Regions from separate parts of the Homo sapiens genome. Here region 1 is linked to region 2. The links are contacts of gene promoters, found by promoter capture Hi-C in blood cells and fetal thymus (Javierre and others, 2016). All regions are on one chromosome and are shown on one strand. The core of a region is centred on a gene start or on the middle of the fragment in contact, and the rest is flanking DNA. Distances in the headings are between cores, read along the strand shown. Region 1 overlaps CSNK2A1 (casein kinase 2 alpha 1). Region 2 holds the start of TRIB3 (tribbles pseudokinase 3).

Region 1 (5,658 bases), core at 522-3,021, 110 kb after region 2:
ACTTCTTTCCTTTTTATTGCTGAGAAATACTACTTCATAATAATATTATATGGTATGGATATGCCAGTTTGTTTAACCATTCCCTCATTGAAGGGCACTTTTCCCCATTTTTTTTTTTTTTTTTTTTTGAGACGCAGTCTCGCTCTGTCACCCAGGCTGGAGCACAGTGGCACGATCTCGGCTCACTGCAACCTCCGCCTCCGGGGTTCAAGCAATTCTCCTGCCTCAGCCTCCTGAGTAGCTGGGATTACAGGTGCATGCCACCAGGCCCGGCTAATTTTTGTATTTTTTTAGTAGAGACAGGGTTTCACCATGTTGGCCAGGCTGGTCTTGAACTCCTGAACTCGTCATCTGCCTGCCTTGGCCTCCCAAAATGATTACAGGTGTGAGCCACTGCACCCAGCTTTTCCCCCCAATTTTAAGCTATTACAAATATAGTTGCATTCATATATAGGCTTTTGTGTGGACCTAAGATTTTGTTGCTCTGAGATAAATGCCACTGCAGGATTGTATGGTAAGCATATGTTTAGCTTTTCAAGAAACCAACCAACTATAAAACAATAGTTAAGCATTTTCCAAAATGCCAAACTTTGCATTCCTACCAGCAATGTATGAGAGATCAAGTTTCTTCACATTTTTGCCAGCACTTGGTACCATCACTATTTTTTATTTTAGCTGTTCTAATAAATGTGTAGTTAACTTTTAAATTTCAAGTGAGAACATGCTAAAGCTTAGAATATGCAAAAGCTCTCTATCTTCAGAGAAAAGGCCTAACAATGACCAATAAGGTTTTACATGATTTGGTTTTACCTCTTTGATTTCATTTCCTCCTTCTTTCCCCGCATTCATTCTGTCCCAGCTTTATCCTTGCTGCTGCTCTTCCAACATGCCAAACATATCCTTACCTGAAGGGCTTTTGTACTTGCTATTTACTCTGCCTTGGGACATGTTTCTTCATAAGACTGCATGGCTGGGTCCCTCCCAGTGCTCTCTAAAATGTCACCTTTCCAATGAAACCTTCCCTTATAACTGGTTTAAAACTGCAAATACCCTCTTGCCATTCCCTATTCGTTTTTTCTTCTACATCAAAATAACTTTCTATCCCACCAGCCTCCCTAAATGTAGCTCCTAAAAGACAAGCATTTATTGTATGTTGAGTTCACTTACATATCCCCAGCCCTAGGGTGGTGCCTCTGACATGGTGTGTGTCTAAAAGTAATTCAGTTGCATAAATAAATCACCTGCCTCCCCAGAGACCACAACAGGCAAGTCATCACAGCTTGTCACCTTAAAAAACTGAAATGCTAAAGCATGTGGCCATTACAGCTCTCATGTAAAAGCATTTGCAGACAACAGGGCCCTTATGACATCCAATAAACAGAAACAGCATTTTCTGTATATCTCGTCCACTTAACTGTGCACATTTAATTCTCACGAATACCTAGTCGCCTGCAGGGCTATTATTACCCACACTGTACACGTAAGAAAAAGAAGGCAAATGGAGAGAAAGTAGTTTCTCAGGAAACCAGTTACTCAATAAATAAGGCGAGAAGCCACGTTTCCGGGCTTAGAAGATGAACATTTTGCCCACTTTACTCATGTTTCCTTCTTGGGAATATTCTTAGGAATATAAATAATGGTTCAAACATGTTGACTTGTAAATTCGTACATTCATTCACCAAATATTTCTCAACTGCCGAATAGGTACTAGGGCCTGTGACAACACAAGGGATAAAGTGTTGAAGATGGGCAATTAGCTACATCATGTAGATAAATAACACTTGTCAGCCTATCACTTTACCTTTCTGTGCTCATGATCAATCATGACATTATGGGGCTTGACATCTCTGTGCATAATTCCCATGCTGTGACAATAATCCAGGGCCTGTGGGATGAACGGGTCAGAAAGGAGTTAGCCTGAATAATACGTAAGAGTCCTTTACTTTTCCCTCCATGTAAATTTTCCTTTTAGCCTCACAATACCCCTGGGATTCAAGCTGAGGACACAGTCACTTCCACAGCAATGCTTCAGAGACTTGTTCATGATCTCACAGTCAAGCAAACTCAGCTCTCTGAGCTTAGAGATCTTTTTCTGACACAGTTGTTTCAACATGTTTTCTGTCCTAAAAGACCCAAAGTATACCCAAATTGCACCACTTCAAATTTTTCTGTCTTGTCCAGATCCTAGATTATTTCCACAGACCCCTCAAAGAAAGAAAACAGATCTTTACTACAAACCTCTTATTCTAAGAACAGTAATTCTTTAGCCATTAAGAGTCTGTAACAGAGGTTGGCAGACCACAGGCCAAATTTGGCCTGATGTCTGCTTTTGTAAATAATGTTTTATTGCAACATAGCCATGCCTATTTGTTTGCATATTGTTTATGGTTGCTCTTGTGCAACAACAGCAGACTTGAATAGTGTGACAAACACTACATGGCCCACAAAGCCTAAAATATTTACTATTTGGCCCTTTAAAGAAGTTTGCCAATGCCTGATTTAGGTCATCAAATCCAATCTGAAATGTTTCCAACCTCAAACTAAAGGGAACTGAGTAGTATAATCTTTGGGGTTTGTTAATCCCAGCCTTTCAGTCAGCCGACGTTGTTGGCCAAATTCTTGTCCTTCCTGAAGGGCAACTTGGGTTCCTACAGTTCCCAGGGCTGGGCAATCATATCTGTAACTTTCTAAAGCCTTGCTTGCCACAAACTGCATGAGCCAATGGAAAGATCAAGTATCTCTGCTGGCACAATCTCCTCAGGGGATTTCTAAGGCTCCAACAGCAGGCTTTATGTCAACTCTTGTTTAGTAAGAAAGCTTAGCCAACTTTTAGCAATTCTCTCTTCTAGGAAGCTGATCTTGTGGCTACTGGGAACAAGATATTTGGTGACCCCACTTTAGAAATGTAAGTAAATTTTCAATTAGCATCTATAAGCAGAAATTTACACAATCCTTAGGACAATTACCCTTTGAGAACTGAGTTAAAGTTTACTGTTTTATTTGCTGACTCTTAAGTGAGATAAAGTATACCAGAAGCTAGCACGTCAGGTGTTTTCACGAGTTTTGAAAATTTAATATTAACTTACATAGGGGCCACAGAAATTACAAATATTTGTTAAGGGGTCAGTCCCAGCTATCTTACAAATACCCTTTTTCAAATTGTTCTAAATTATACTCCCACTAGACCCCATTCCATAACCCTTAGCACAAGGGTTCTGATACTATTATTATTAATTTTTATTTATTTATGTATTTAGAGACAGGGTCTTACTCTGTGCTACTGCACTCCAGCCTGTGCAACAATCATAGCTCACTGCTGCCTCAAATTCCTGAGATCCTCCTGTCACAGCCTCCCAAGTAGCTGGAATTACAAGCATAAGCCACCATACCCAGCTAATTTTTAAATTTTTTGTAGAGACAGGGTCTCACTATGTTGCTCAGGCTGGTCTTGATCTCCTGGCCTCAAGCAATCCTCCTGCCTTGGCCTCCCAAGTAGCTGGGACTTACAGGTGCACACCACCATGCCCAGGTAATTAAACAATTTTTTTTTGTAGAGATGGGGATCTCACTATGTCACCCAGGCTGGTCTTTTGATCTCCTGGCCTCAAGCAATCCTCCTGCCTCAGCCTTCCAAAGTGCTGGGATTACAGGTATGATACTATTAACTTATTAAAAACTTATATAGAGGTCCCTTCTTTCAACATACTTTACAAAGTTAATCTGCTGGCTTTTCTACCATCAATTGACTATTTAACAAAAAGAAGACCAATTTAAAAAATATTTAGTATTCAAGGTTCACTTACCTTCAGAATCTCATACATGTAAAATCGAATATCATAGTCTGTTAACGTCTGGTACAATTGCTGTTAAAGACAAATGTTTGAGCCATGAAATAATGCTGACAGAAAGGCATTTTTCACCCTCACTCACAGTAATTCAAACCAAGACTTGGCTCATTTACCGTTGTTCCAAGATCTGTCCATTCACTGCCCTCTATTTCTCCAACATTACATTAACTTTAAAGAGATACTTTGGGTCTTCAACTCTTAAAAATGAAGAATTACTTAAACATATATTGCGGAAGCTATAATCCACTGTCAGAAACATACTGATCTAGATACGTTAATATGCACTGACACCCACCTATAATTTAGTTTGCTTTTCATGTATCTTCAGACCTTCTCAAAAGAGGCATTTTGGCAAATATACTGCCTCCTTAGTAGGGAACTAACTCATCTTTGCCTTACATAGTTGGCCCTGCAGATCACCAGTGGGTATGCAGATGGCATGATACCAAACCTGTTGAGTCAATTTAACAAAACTATTCTTGTTCCAATTGGAAAGTAAACTCTGAACAACTGTTATGTATCCTTTCCAGTTTCCAAAGAGTTGCAGAATGTTTTTTACATGGACATATCTTTTTTTTTTTTTTTTTTTTTTGAGACAGGGTCCTCACTCTGCTGCCCAGGCTGGAGTGCCGTGCTGCAATCATAACTCACTGCAACCTCAAACTCCTGGGCTCAAGCGATCCTCCTACCTCAGCTTCCCCAGTAGCTAGGACTACAGGCGAAAGCCACCATGCCCAGCCACAGGTACGTCTCTTTAATGGTTAGCAACGTCTTCTGACAAAGTTTTTCTTGAAATTATCATTCTGACTCTAAAGCAGTTCCTCTTCCTTTCTCCCTATCTCTGCAACAGAATTCACTAATTTATTAATATATAACATTCTGGATACTGGACTGGTGGAAAGGCAAATCGAAGATTTTTACTTTTACTCCAAAAGAGTAGCTATATTCTTCTGTAAAATTGGAACTGTGTGAAATAAGTAGGCCACTGGATAGACTGGAATTCTGAGATATCTCTTATAGAGGTTTGTGTTATGGCAGAATTTGACATTATCCTTCCTCGATCCCTGCCTTTTAAGATCTATAGCCCACAGTTTATGAGGAATCCTAAGAAATAAGCAGTCCCTACTTTTATACATACAATATATTTCTTCCTGAACACTATTGTTTAAAGCGAATTGCCATATGGCCAGATCCTAAGTGAACGTGTGTTACTGCCTTCATTAGGTTGGACATCAGCAGAAACTGTCAACTAAGTAGTGAGAAGTCAATGTGTTGGTCATTAAAAAGAACATTAAACAAATGGGCAAAATATCAAGATGCAGAAAGTGGGCACTGCTTATATAGGAGTTCTTCTATCTTAAAATTTGCACTGTAAGGATGAAAAGCTTTTTAAAAACAAATGCGAAGCAAGCTCTTCTAACAGCATCATCCCCAAAGGCTATGTGGTCTAAAAACCCACTAGCCCGAAACAGTTGGTTATATATTATACCTTGAAGTCTGTGTTGTTTACGTGTTCAAAAACCAAGGCGGGGGTTCGTGACTAGGGGAAAAGAACAAAAACAAAAACACACATTAGCAATAGCCCTGACAGCTTTAATGGGGACAATGTTTGCGGATGCTGCGTGGTGAAATTTGGCAGTCCTCGCCTCAGTAGTAAGAAACCCTCTATTGCTACAAGCCCTCCCCGCTCTGATCATCACCGCACTTAGGTCATTTTTGGGATGGATTTCAAACAGAAGACATGGAGCTGAAGTCTCACCAGGCTCTAGGCAGCCCGACAATGCGCCCATCGCCCATCGGCATCGGACCT
Region 2 (5,590 bases), core at 2,826-5,325:
ACAATTTTGAAAGAAAAGGAATTTATTCCTTACAGCTATGGAGGATAGGAAGTCCAAGATTGAGGGGGCACTTCTGGTGAGGGCCTTATTCCTGGTCTCTGAAGTGTCTGGAGGTGGCACAGGGTATAGCGTGGAGAGGGGACTGGGCATGCTGACATGCTATGCTTTGGTCTCTCTTCCTCTTCTTATAAAGCCACCAGTTCTCCTCCTGTGAAAACCCACAAATCCATTAATCCATGAGTGGGTTAGTCCATTCATAAGGGCAGAGGCTTCATGATCCAATCACTTCTTAAAAGTCCCAACCGCTCAGTACTGCCACATTGGGGGATTAAGTTTCCAGCACATGACATTTGGGGGACACATTTAAACCATAGCAGTAGCCATTTGCCACATGTGGTTATTGAGCACTTCAAGTATGGCTAATGTGGCTAGTGTGACTGAGAATTTTTTATTTTATTGAATATTTTAATTTTTTTTTTTTTTTTTGAGATGGAGTCTCACTCTGTCGCCCAGGTCAGAGTGCAGTGTCATGATCTCGGCTCACTGCAACCTCCGCCTCCCGGGGTCAAGTGATTCTCCTGCCTCAACATCCCGAGTAGCTGGGATTACAGGTGTGTGCCACCATGCCCGGCAAATTTTTGTATTTTTAGTAGAGACAGGGTTTCACTGTGTTAGCCAGGACGATCTTGATCTTCTGACCTCATGATCCACCCACCTCCGCCTCCCAAAGTGCTGGGATTACAGGCATGAGCCACTGCGCCCAGCCTCACATTATATTTCTATTGGAACACAGAATGGTCTAGAGAATTGGGATTTGACAAACCCAGCTGTGACAAGTCACCAAAATTTGGGGGCCATACCCAGGGTGCCGTTCCTGTCACGATACCCATAGGTCCATGTGGAGGCTGCAGGGATACAAAGCTCGTGAAATATCCCAGGATGGCATGGGCACTGGAGTCAGCTGCCCCAAGTTCAAATCTGAAATCAGTCTTTTTGTTTTTTTTTTTTTTTTGAGATGCAGTTTCACTCTTGTTGCCCAAGCTGGAATGCAGTGGCGCAATTGGCTCACTGCAACCTCCGCCTCCTGGGTTCAAGCGATTCTCCTGTCTCAGCCTCCCGAGTAGCTGGGATTACAGGTACATGCCATCACGCCCGGCTAAATTTTTGTATTCTTAGCAGAAACCGGGTTTCACCACCTTAGCCAGGCTGGTCTCCATCTCCTGACTTCAGGTGATCCGCCTGCCTCAGCCTCCCAAAGTGTTGGGATTACAGGCGTGAGCCACCGCGCCCAGCCTGAAATCAGTCTTATACGACCAGCTGGGTGGTCTTGGGTAGGTCCCTTACCTTAACTCTTCTTGTCTGCAGAATGGAGGTGACTTACTGTTTTTCTCTGTCTCCCTTTCACATCTTTGCACTCTTCACCCCTTCTCTTCCCTCAGCTTTTAGTTTAAACATCACCTTTCTGATAAGCCCTGCTGAAAATGGCCACCCTCAGTCATGACGGAGAACAAGTCTTTCCTATTTTATTCAAGAAAATGCATGATGCAATCTATTTTAAATGATCATGGTTTTAATTTTATTTTCCTGATAATGGTCTATCTCTCCACTGATTTATAAGATTTGTAAGAGCAGGGGTGGATCATTCTGGTCACTGCTGAGTCCCCAGCATTTAGAACAGGGGCTGACACAGCACAAAACAACGTTAGTTGGGAATGTACAAGCAAACCCAGCACACCTTCAGAGGGGTGCTCAGGAAACAGCCCTCCCACCTTTCTTCACCCCTCACAGCTGTGGGATCTTCCTAACCATTTCGGTGTCCCAGGATAGAGGATGAGTTTATTCACCCCTCCCCAGCAGGGGAGTTGCCAGGATTAAATGAGATCCCAGAATGCCCTGGTATACCCTGAAGGCTCTGGGACACAGGTGAGCTGGTCCCCAGGGATTTGGAAACAGGAAAACAAATATGACTCCACCCTGCCTCCCATCCAGCCTCTGCCTAGAGGAGTTATTTTATTTTATTTTACTTTTTTTTTTTTTTTGAGACGGAGTCTTGCTCTGTCGCCCAGGCTGGAGTGCAATGGCGCAATCTCAGCTCATTGCAACTCCTGCCTCCTGGGTTCAAGCGATTCTCCTGCCTCAGCCTCCCGAGTAGCTGGGACTACAGGTGTGTTTTTTGTATTTTTAGTAATTTTTTGTACTTTTAGTAGAAACGGGTTTCACCGTGTTAGCCAGGATGGTCTTGATCTCCCGACCTCGTGATCCACCTGCCTCAGCCTCCCAAAGTGCTGGGATTACAGGCATAAGCCACCACGCCCAGCCTCTAGAGGAGTTATTTTACTTACTTACTTATTTATTTATTACACAGGATCTCACTCTGTCACCCAACCTGGAGTGCAGTGGCACAATCACGTTTCACTGTAACCTGAACTCCTGGGCTCAAGTGATCCTCCTACCTCAGCTTCCTAAGTAGCTGGGACCACAAGCTCGTACCACCATGCCCGCTATCTTTTTCTCTTTGTAAAGACAGGGTCTTACTATGTCATCCAGGCTGTTCTCAAACTCCTGGCCTCAAGCAATCCTCCCGTCTTGGCCTCCCAAAGTGCTAGGATTACAGACATGAGCCAGCTCACCCAGCTGAGGAGTTATTTTTTGACACTGGTGAATTCAGATCAAAAGGGATTTCTAAGAAAGGTGCTGGACCCAGGCCGGGCGCGGTGGCTCATGCCTGTAATCTCAGCACTTTGGGAGGCCGAGGCAGGTGGATTATCTGAGGTCAGGAGTTCGAGACCAGCCTGACCAACATGGAGAAACCCTGTCTCTACTAAAAATACAAAATTAGCCAGGCATAGTAGCGCATGCCTGTAATCCCAGCTACTTGGGAGGCTGAGGCAGGAGAATCGCTTGAACCCGGGAGGTGGAGGTTGCAGTGAGCCGAGATCGTGCCATCGCACTCAATCCTGGGCAACGAGTGAAACTCTGCCTCAAAAAAAGAAAAAAAAAGAAAGGTGCTGGACGCCTAGGACGCAGAGGGGTGTTTCACCCCAAATCAAGTAGCACCAAGCCCTCCCAGGCCTTGGGTGCAAGCATATTAAAGGCCTCTTTCCCTCTCTGTCTCCATTGTTTACACTCCACTGAGCATCCGCAATGTGCCACACACTGTTCTAAGCGTCTTACACATATTAAATTATTTAATCCTCACAACAACTTTATGAAGTGAGCGCAATTATGAGCCCATTTTATGGAGCAGGAAGTTGAGGCAGGGTTTTAGGTAGCTTTTCTGGGGTAGCACTGTGGGTTGGAGCGGAGGTGGAGTGCACTCTTAGGCCAGCTGGCTCTAGGGGCTCTTCACCACTAGGCCGCACTGCCTCTAGCAAAGGGACGCGGGGAAGCTCAGCAGACCTTAGGCCTCCCAAGGGCGCCACGGTGGTTCCTTTGAGCCCAGAGTCAGCTCTTAAGTCCATAGGCCTTCCTGAAGCTTCTGAACCACTTGCCCATAGCTGGGCCTCAGGCTGGCTCTCAGTAGAATGTGGAGAATGGAGATTCCCGCATGTCCACTTCTCCTAAAGGTTTTATAAGGCAGTGCTGGGAATGTGCTTTATAAAAAAGGGGAAGCACCCCGACAACAGTCACTGTTTGCTCTTTTAAGCACCATCCTGAGAAGGAGGAATGTTCTTCCCATTTCATAGGTGGGGAAACCGAGGCTCAGAAGAGCAAATTTTTGGCCGGGCGCGGTGGCTCACGCCTGTAATCCCAGCACTTTGGGAGGCCGAGGCGGGTGGATCACGAGGTCAGGAGATCGAGACCATCCTGGCTAACAAGGTGAAACCCCGTCTCTACTAAAAATACAAAAAATTAGCCGGGCGTGGTGCGGGCGCCTGTAGTCCCAGCTACTCGGGAGGCTGAGGCAGGAGAATGGCGTGAACCCGGGAGGCGGAGCTTGCAGTGAGCCGAGATCGCGCCACCGCCCTCCAGCCTGGGCGACAGAGCAAGACTCTGTCTCAAAAAAAAAAAAAAAAAGAGCAAATTTTTTTTCCAAGGTGATAGGGAGAGTCCGTGGCTGATGTCTGCACTGACCAGACGCCCCTAGGGGGCCAGCGAGGGCGGGTCCCAGGTGCAGCGGATGCAGAGGAGAGAGGCCCGGGCGCGGCGCGGGGGATGGTGCGATCCCGGGCCCGAGGGCATCAGACGGCGGCTGATTAGCTCCGGTTTGCATCACCCGGACCGGGGGATTAGCTCCGGTTTGCATCACCCGGACCGGGGGATTAGCTCCGGTTTGCATCACCCGGACCGGGGGCCGGGCGCGCACGAGACTCGCAGCGGAAGTGGAGGCGGCTCCGCGCGCGTCCGCTGCTAGGACCCGGGCAGGGCTGGAGCTGGGCTGGGATCCCGAGCTCGGCAGCAGCGCAGCGGGCCGGCCCACCTGCTGGTGCCCTGGAGGCTCTGAGCCCCGGCGGCGCCCGGGCCCACGCGGAACGACGGGGCGAGGTACTCGGCGGGGTGCGGCCTGCGGACTCGCCCGGAGGCCGGGGGGCGGGAGGGGGCGGCCGGGGAAGGGGGCGCCGGAAGCCTCTGGGCGTCTGCGTGTTGCCGCGTGTTACACGCACGCACGCCCCTTACACACCTTTTCACAGACCCCGCCGTCGGGGCGCGGCCAGGTCAGATCCCTTTTGATCCGGGCCTGGGCTGAGTGCTCCCCCCGGGCTTCAGGTGACGCGGCCCCGCGGAGCGTGGGGTCGCCCGAGTTGGGCTGGGGAAGCCAGGGACGGAGGTGTCCGGCCGTCACCCCTAGAGGAGGGCGTGCGGGGGTCTGTTTTGCGTGAGTGCGGGATAGGGGAGTCGTGTGGTGCGGTGAGGGGCTTGTGGGGGGCACTGGAGGACTCTGGGGGTGGCGGGGGATCCGAGGGGGTCCTCGTGAACCCGCAGGGGAGAGTCCTGGGTGAGGGTGGGTCCCGAGCACCTGTGTCTCAGGAGATGGTGAGAGCTGTCTGGAGGGCTGGGCACTTGGTGGCAGGGGTTGGCGGTGCAGGGGACACCGCCGGGACAGGGCTGGGGTGCCCTGGAGCGGGGGAGCCGAGGGAGTGGGAGCGGGGGCGCAGCGCGCGATCTCTGGCCCGGCAGGGCCGCTGGTTCTCCCCAGTGCGCGGCTCCGGGTTTGCAGGTGGACGGTGCGCGCGTGTCTGCGGTGTGTGCTGTGCCTGCAGACCGGGGAGGGCGGGGGACGACAGCCACCTCCTTCCCTCTGCCTCACCCCCCTCCTGTCCCAGGGCCGCGCTTCAATTTCCGCTGAAACTTCTGACTCGGACACCCGCCGCCTTTCGCTTGGGCTCCCACGGGAGGGGCCTGGCTGCGGGGGGCGGGGCGGGGTGGGGGTGCGGCCTTGCTCGGGTAGACCATGGGTGTGACAGCTGGGAGGGCTGTGTGTGTGTGTGTGTGTGTGTGTGTGCGTGCGCGCGCGCGCTTGCGCTTGATGTAACCCGCCCTCATTTCCCTGGGTCCCGAGTGTGGCAGGGAACAGCAAGAGGTAGATATTAGGGGCTGCTTTCATTCCACATCACAGATTCTATTCTGCAGTGTGGTCTGCAAAATGCCT

What was found. Contacts are between HindIII fragments. The CHiCAGO score rates a contact against its expected background, and 5 or more counts as called.
Region 1: a fragment that was not itself captured here is called in contact with the fragment with the promoter of TRIB3 in region 2 in 7 of 17 cell types (activated CD4 T cells, naive B cells, erythroblasts and 4 more); the score reaches 7.7 in activated CD4 T cells.

Annotation. Positions count from the first base shown.
Region 1 is chr20:493,918-499,575 of GRCh38, forward strand. It overlaps CSNK2A1 (casein kinase 2 alpha 1), which reads right to left. Exons shown (of 14, transcript NM_177559.3): 6 at 5,338-5,388; 7 at 3,804-3,863; 8 at 1,802-1,885. Among named protein-coding and RNA genes, the nearest start is that of TBC1D20, 34 kb to the left of the region's middle. The HindIII fragment of the contact is 2,087 bases long and covers 729-2,815 here.
Region 2 is chr20:376,685-382,274 of GRCh38, forward strand. It overlaps TRIB3 (tribbles pseudokinase 3), which reads left to right and starts at 4,076. Exons shown (of 4, transcript NM_021158.5): 1 at 4,076-4,485. RefSeq lists silencers at 4,360-4,519, 4,540-4,649, 4,920-5,509 and an enhancer at 5,195-5,590. The HindIII fragment of the contact is 2,528 bases long and covers 3,474-5,590 here.